2 separate regions of the Homo sapiens genome follow, and region 2 is linked to region 1. Evidence: promoter capture Hi-C in human tissues and cell types (Jung and others, 2019). All regions are on one chromosome and are shown on one strand. The core of a region is centred on a gene start or on the middle of the fragment in contact, and the rest is flanking DNA. Distances in the headings are between cores, read along the strand shown.

Region 1 (3,851 bases), core at 737-3,236:
GGGACCCCTGGTTTAAGACACCCAGTTTGTAGTGCTTTCTTACAGCAAACTGCCAACTAATACACCACCTAAATGCTGATGATTGCCAATTCTCCACCTCCAATCTCTAAGCCCCAGGCCACTTCAGGCATTGAATATCCTACTAATTTGTGCCTGAGTTTTAATTTATAAAGGTGGCTGAGTGAGGACATGAAGAGGTCACTGCTATTGAAAGAAAAGCTTAATGTTATTTGCAGTTCCCCTAGAAACAAAAGGCACGGTCACAGGGGGAAGTGCCAGTGTCACTCAGGAGGCAGAAAGAAGCGAAGGGAAGGTACAGGCCTTTATTGGGGTTTACTTCTCCCAGTAAGGCAGGAGAAGCAGTTTGGGACTGGCTAGTTTGAATAATTCCAGAGTGCTCTGGGGCACAGGGACAGGTCCTGGTTACCTGGTCCTGGGTTGATTTAGGGCAGGGGAGATACTGGCTTGGAATGTGAAAGTTAGAGAAAGGAAGTGCTCAGAGTGTGAGCTCTGGATTGTAGGGGAGATGTAAACAACCTTGGCCATTAGGTTGGCCCTGTGATTTATGGATGCCAAATAGACAAATACAGAACCTAAGGAAACACAGTTAAAACACCTACCAGCACCCCAACTTCTACATGTCTGTGTCTAAATGCATCATCTTCCTCTTCAAACCTTCCTCTCCTCTGTTTCCCTGTCCCAGGGATGGACACTTTATATCTGTGCAGTCAGAAACCTGGAGGTCATCCATGTTCCTCCTTCTTCCCCTGCCTCCAATCTACTACCAGGTCCTATCAATTCTGCCACTGATCTTGAAGATCTTCACTCCTCTCCTGGGTATCCTCCAGTCCGGGCATCTTTTGAGCCTGGCGTTCTGTTAGCAGCCTCCCAGTGGCCTCTCTGCTTCTACTTTCCTCCTCCTCCAATCTATTCTCCAAGCAACTGAATGATTCTCCTAAAACATAACTCATGTCACCCTTCCCTTCTTAAAACCCCTGGATGGCTTTCCTCTGACCCTAGGATAAACTGCAGCAATTATGTGGTCCTTGACCACCCACATGCTCCAGCCACACCAACTTTCTTTGTTCCCTTAAGACATCCTTCACCTCCAGGCTTTTGCCTTTGCTGCCCCCTCTGCTAGAACACCCTCGCGTGAAGTCCGGGCACCTCCGCAGTGCTCCCATGGCAGCTGGTACTTCTCTTGTGTGGACCATGTTAAGCCCTGATGACTTGTGGACCTCCTAGAAGCTTTACGGTGTATTGATACCTAGGCTCCTCTCCAGACTAACTGTATCGGGGGTAGGGCCTGGGCACTGGTAGTTTTAAAAATCCTAGATGATTCCGATCTGCAGTCAAGGTTGAAAGCCACTACTCTTAGTAGACGACCTCCTATATTTCAATGAAGACACGGACAGTAACATGGGGGGTCTGTATCAAGTGCCTGGTACAGGGCGGGTGGTGAGCAAATTATCTACTGTACGAGGACTGTGTGGCAGGGACTGTATGAGACAATGCAGAGTGACACTGCAGGAAGGTGCATGTGTTGCAATGCCACCACTGAGCAGCTGAAAGCTTTGTGACAGTGTGGGGTGTCACAGTCGGACAGTGACTGGTGAGGGTCACTGTGAATGGCTGTAGTGTGTGACAGAGCAGAATGTCACTGCAGGAGTAGCTGTGTCCTGTGCGTGACTGACTGCGAGCGCCTAAGGGACTCTGGCCAGGCTGCTGGACTCGGGGCGTCGCCGGGGAAGAGTTTAAGGGAGCTGGAGATGCCCCGCACCAAGATGGCAGCTGGGGGAGGCCGCTTGTCTCGGGCTGCACAGCCAAGAACCGCGGAGGGGAAGAAGGCAGGGGAGGGCGGGAGGCCATTCGCAGGTCACTCGGGTTAGATCCGCGCGAGGCACTAGGCGACCAGCCACCCAGCCCCGCGACCAACTAGCGCCGCCTCTCGCCGCCCATCCCGGGGCACCGGCGGTGGGCGGGGCCAGCAGCGCAAACTGCCTGCAGCGGGGACCGGACCTGCACAGGCCGCCTATGGCGGGCGGCGGGTGGGACCGCGAGTTACAGCCGGCCAACTGGGGCCAGCCAGGAGCCTGAGGGTCGGAAGCCCCCAACACAAGATGCTGAGCTCCTTCCTGAGCCCCCAGAATGGCACCTGGGCAGACACCTTCTCTCTGCTCTTGGCTCTTGCCGTTGCCCTCTACTTGGGCTACTACTGGGCATGTGTGCTTCAGGTGGGTGCGGGTCCACCGCTCTGGCCAGCGGGTTTGGGTGTAGGGGGCAGCTTCCAGACACGGGCTTGGGCCCTTGGTGGGAACTGGGATGGTTGGGCTTCCCCACAGGTGAAATTTGCTACCACCGAATGGAGAGTCGGCTCTGCCTCTCTAGTGCCTCTGCATCCCATGTGATCCCCATGCCAGCTGGGCCTTTTGGGTACCGGAGGGTGCTGCTCCCTATAATGTGGACAAGCATTTGGGGAAAGGTGGGGTGGAAGGCATCCTGAGGTATCAGAGATGTGCACACTTTGCGTTCCTTTTTAGGTGGTTTAGCTGAGTCTTTCAGCTGCACTGAAGGAAGGAACCAGAGGTCTGTGGGTCATGGCTAACTCCCAATACCACCCACCCCCCAAATAGCTTAGTAGGACCTCCCTTCCCTTAAGGGCTGGCTGAGGTCAGAACTGGCCTAGCTCAGAACTGATGGATGACCCCAACTGTCCTTGCTCATTCAGCCGTTTTATGTTCCAGGCTCTCCATATAGTGAGTGTGATGAGAAAGTTTGAAGAGGTTGATTTTGATGAATTTGGAGACTTTTCTCACTGAAATTTAGATATATACATAATTTACATATCCAGGAAAAGCCAAATCTCTTCATCTTCATTAAACTCTGTTCTAGGTAGCTGAGTCTAACAAGACACCTACTGGTTCGAGTCCTTTAAAAAGGTCTATAGGAGACTTTAGTGTTACCTAGACTTTTCCATATTTTCAGAGCTTTCTACATTAGCATATATTGTTTACTAAATGTCTTCCTTAGGGCCGGGTGTGGTGGCTCACGCCTGTAATCCCAACACTTTGGGAGGCAGAGGCGGGAGGATCGCCTGAGGTCGGGAGTTCGAGAGCAGCCTGACCAACATGAAGAAACCCCATCTCTACTAAAAATACAAAAATTAGCCAGGCATGGTGGCACATGCCTATAATCCCAGCTACTCGGGAGCCTGAGGCAGGAGAATCACTTGAACCTGGGAGGCGGAGGTTGCAATGAGCCTCGTGCCATTGCACTCCAGCCTGAGCAACAAGAGTGAAACTCCGTCTCAAAAAAAAAAAAAAAAGTCTTCCTTAATAAAACAGTTAAAAACTCCAAGCCTCACAATACTCTGTAGGCCTCACTTTATACATCAGATTTGGAAGGTCACTTCAGAACAAAACTGCCCCTAAGGAAACACTTTCCTTTACTTGCAACTAGCTGCACAGAAATCTGGGCCCCTGCTGCTTTATAGACTAAACCCTTTATAAGCTAACGAATACTGGTTAAAATGCAGGAAAAGTGCCATTCTGGAGGCCCTCTAGATACGGTGTTTGGATTGGCCAGCACTGTAATGGATCTATACTGATTTAAGCATAGCAACCAGTGCCATATTGTAATACTAATTCATTCTCAGGAGGGAGTCAAGAAACATTTTCTTGAGTTAAAATCAAATTAACCCACATAAATCAAACCTGTGAACAAATTTATAAGTCTTGTTCCACACTACTGGGCCGTTTGACCAAGGAATTAATAAACTGATAGTAACTCAGCCGAGCACAGTGGCTCATGCCTGTAATCCCAGCATTTTGGGAGGCTGAGGCGGGCGAATC
Region 2 (3,851 bases), core at 753-3,252, 1.2 Mb after region 1:
AGTAGAAATCATCCTGTTACAGGTGAGGAAATGGAGTCCCAGTTCTGGATGACACAATGAGCCAGGGCCCGGGCTAGAGCTGTGAGTCCTGTGCCTCCTAGTGCAGTGCTCTTTCCACTTCCCCCACTGCCTCCCCTTGACGATGCATGTTGTCCTGGACAGAAGGAGAGCTGTTTGAGGACCAGGCCAACCAACACCCTGCTCTTGGCAGCCGGAGCCATGTGATTCCTAAATACCCTTCTAGGAAGAGCTGCAGCATCATCCCTGGTCAAGCCCTGACCAAAACTGCACACCACACACAAGGAGTACACCTGGTAGGTTTGGGGGCAGAAGACACGCAAGGGCTGGAGGTGCCTCTGGCTACAGAATTTGTCCTTTGATGCCACAAGGATGCCATGAGCAGCTCTAGACTGGATTGCAAAAGACACACAGTGTCCCATGACTTTGGCTGAGTATCCAAGCCTGAGATTGGCCATCTCTGCCTGCGATTGCCAGCTCAGTGTGATCAGTGAGAAGGGAGGGCCTGATCCAAGGAGCCTCGGGAAAGGCTGAACTGAGGACAAGGACCCTAGACCTCTCACAGGTTTCCCGCTTCGGCACACACGCGTTCTTCTGGCTGTTTCCACAGACTCAGAGCCTCTTCCCCTTGGCCCCAGCGGGTACCCATGATAATAGTTGACATCTATTGATCATCTCTTATGCCAGGTACCATGCCAAGCGCTTACCCAGACCATCTCATTCACTCCTCACAAGAACCCTTTAAGGTAGGCAGTTACTCCCGCCTTTTAGATGAAGAAACTAACGCTGCAGTCACTTGCCCTCATGATCAACGAGTAAGGAGTGTGGCCAGGCCTCGAGCCCAGTCCGCCTGGCTCCAGAGCCTGCCCCGCACAGGCTACCCTCACCTTCTACAGCCCACCGGCCTTAGGACCCTCAGTTATGGCACCCTGCTTTGTAGGTGAGGGAGCTGAAGCCCAGAAGAGATTTACCCTGGGCCCAAGGCCCACAAAAGTAGACCCCCTGACTCCTGATTCAGTTCCCTCCACCATGCCATGCCTGTGAGCTGAAGCCTGGGCCAGCCCTGCTTCTGCTCTGAATTCATGGGAAACCTACCCAGTCCTTACGTTTTCTTCTCCTAACTGAGACTCCTGGGTTGGACCGAGTTGTAATTTTATGAAACCCTGAGCAGAGAGACTGAGATCAGTGAAGAGGGACTGAACCTCATTTTGCCCTCAGGCATATTGAGCTCTAATGCCATCTAAAAATAGATTCCCTTACAGTGTGCATTCAGTGAGGAGCTTGACACTCAGGGCCCTCTCCTGTGGGCCCCACTTGGCCAGTTAATGGGGAGGTGAGAAGACTTCACTATCCCCTAGAACACGCTTACACTTTTAAAGCTTACTACATACTTTGTCTCTGGGTCAAAGGTTTTTTCAAAGATGACAGATACCTCTTGCCATTAGCAATCTGTACTCTGGGCAGCTCTCCATTTTCTCTGATAAAAAGTGAAATAAATGAAAACAGCGTTTTAAAAAATCTATAAATGGGTGGGAGCCAGTTGTCATTTTCCCTTTCCCCCTCCTCCCACTCCGTTAACTAACTTAATGAGGATCCAAGTTGAGAGGCACTCGCCGAAAACAGCTGGTAGCATCATGCCTTTAAATAGCCCTCGCCACGCTTCCCCTTGGCAGCACGCAGTTGGCCCTGGCAGGGAAAGCCCAGGACAGAACAGGAAACTTTAGAACTTTCTAAAAAGAAAAAAGCTTGCCTTTAAAACGTGCTCCCTTCTGTGTAAGGAGCTTGCAATGTTGTAGCCCCTTCCCCTAGAAGTTTACAAGGAAAGACTAAGCTGATGAGGCTTGCCTCGGGACCCAGTGTGACTCTGGGCCTGGGGAGGTAAGTGGAGGGCTCCCCGGACCCGACCCCTGCCCAGCTCAGGCCAGCGTCCAGGGCAGCAGTGGCTCCAGCACCATCTGCTCATCAGGCACCTGTGGGGGCTATAGTGCAGCTCAGCTGCAGCCTCTCCCCTTGATGTTCGTAGCTGTAAGGTCAGGGAAGGTGACGTCCTCACCTCTAACTTAGGGAACATTCAGCCCTCCCTGAAAGTGGTACTGGGATGGGCCAGACTCCACAGTGCACATCAGGCCAGAGTCCATGCAGCAGAGGTTGGTGGCAGCCTGTCGATCTCAGACCCTCTGGAGAAGCGGGGCCACAAGGCTCTCTCCGGCCGCACTTCCATGTTGCTGGGGAAATAGCAGCAGGTGAAACATATGGAAGGAATAAGTGGCCCTCACGTCTGGGTGGCAGCCAACAGTTGACTGTCTCCTCCCACACACTGTCCCATGCGAGTGTGGCATCAGGTGGCCTTATCACCCCTACTGTTCGTAAGGGAACAGAGCCCAGGGCTTCTCCTGCCCTGCCCGGCCTTGCCTAGGTCTGGAGCTCTGTCACACCACAGCACCCCTTTTGCATTAAGGGTGACTGTGGCGACTGTGGCATGGTGCCGTTAATGGATAAGGGCTTTGAGGTCCTGAGTGCCAGAGAAGGTGGCGGTTTGGCTGGCTCAGGGCTGTGCTGATCACAAGTGGATGGAAGAGGGTGCTTTTTCTTACTAACTGTTGGCAAAGTTTGAAATTTGAGAATGGACTAAAGTGTTCTTCCTTAGTACCTAAATATTGTACCTGTTCTCTTTCTGGAGCTGCTGTCTCTCCCACCTTCTTTTTTTTTTTTTTTTTTTTTTTTTTTGAGACAGAGTCTGGCTCTGCCGCCCAGGCTGGAGTGCCATGGTGCGGACGTGATCTTGGCTCACTGCAACCTCCGCCTCCCGGGTTCAAGCGATTCTCCTGCCTCAGCTTCCCAAGTAGCTGGGACTACAAGCGCCCACCACCACACCCGGCTAATTTTTATATTTTTAGTAGAGACGGGGTTTCGCCATGTTGGCCAGGCTGGTCTTGAACTCCTGACCTTGGGTGATACACCCGCCTCGGCCTCCAAAAGTGCTGGGATTACAGGCATGAGCCACTGCGCCCAGCCTCTCCCGCCTTCTTAAACAGCTTGTAATGGACATACTGTAACTGCTTCTTGCAAGCTCGTGGTCATCATTAGTTACATTAAAGCCACAGCCCATCACCAAGTGCTTTCTACACTGAGCCAGGCCTAGTGGTCACTGGGAGCAGGATGTGCTCCCGCTTTCCAGGGGCTGGCAGATAAGACCTGTGCACATGGGACAAGTGCCCCAGAAGAAGCACGGACAGTGTGCAGGGAGATGACCTCCTGGGGACCAGGGGAGACTTGATGGAAGCAGGAGTATTTGTCCTGAGCATGAATAAGCCCAGAGGTGGCAAATGGCATGTGTGAGGAAGAGCAAGTAGTCAAATGAGAAGAAGGGAGAGGCAGTAGATCCAGGGCTCGTATCCTGGACCGTGGCCAGCTCAGGGGGGTCTGTGACATCCCCGGGTTGCTGTGGGGCGTCTTACCTGCAGTTTCTCTGAGGAGAGGATCCTTCACTTTCTTAGCTTCTCAAAGGGTCGCATGATCTCAAAAAATGTGATAGAGGAACAGAATAGATTTTCTTCCTAATGACTTGGAGCCAGATAGAGTCATTGAATGCCAGGCTGAGAGTTTGGAGGACATTAAGGTCTTGGTCAGGAAAGGGACAGAGACTCACACTGTAAGAGAATCAGTGTAGCTGCAAACATAGGCAAAGGAGGCCTCATGTCCAGGGGAGAAGCAGCTTCTGCAGCAGTGCCATCGAAAGATAAGACAGGAGCTATGGGAGTCACTACGGATGGAGGGACTTAGCGGCAGGAACCTTGAGGATGAATTCACCGTAGGGGTTTAGGGAGAATGGA

Evidence for each region. Contacts are between HindIII fragments. The study calls those that stand out against the background at their distance.
Region 2: a contact is called between a fragment that was not itself captured here and the fragment with the promoter of ABHD1 in region 1, in 1 of the 25 tissues and cell types used here (aorta).

The regions. Positions count from the first base shown.
Region 1 is chr2:27,121,829-27,125,679 of GRCh38, forward strand. It overlaps ABHD1 (abhydrolase domain containing 1), which reads left to right and starts at 1,987. Exons shown (of 9, transcript NM_032604.4): 1 at 1,987-2,234. The coding sequence starts at 2,121. RefSeq lists silencers at 1,832-1,911, 1,932-2,071. The HindIII fragment of the contact is 4,226 bases long and covers 1,411-3,851 here.
Region 2 is chr2:28,332,437-28,336,287 of GRCh38, forward strand. The region is part of intron 11 of BABAM2 (BRISC and BRCA1 A complex member 2); the gene reads left to right. Among named protein-coding and RNA genes, the nearest start is that of BABAM2-AS2, 24 kb to the left of the region's middle. RefSeq lists a silencer at 3,632-3,832. The HindIII fragment of the contact is 4,592 bases long and covers 1-3,851 here.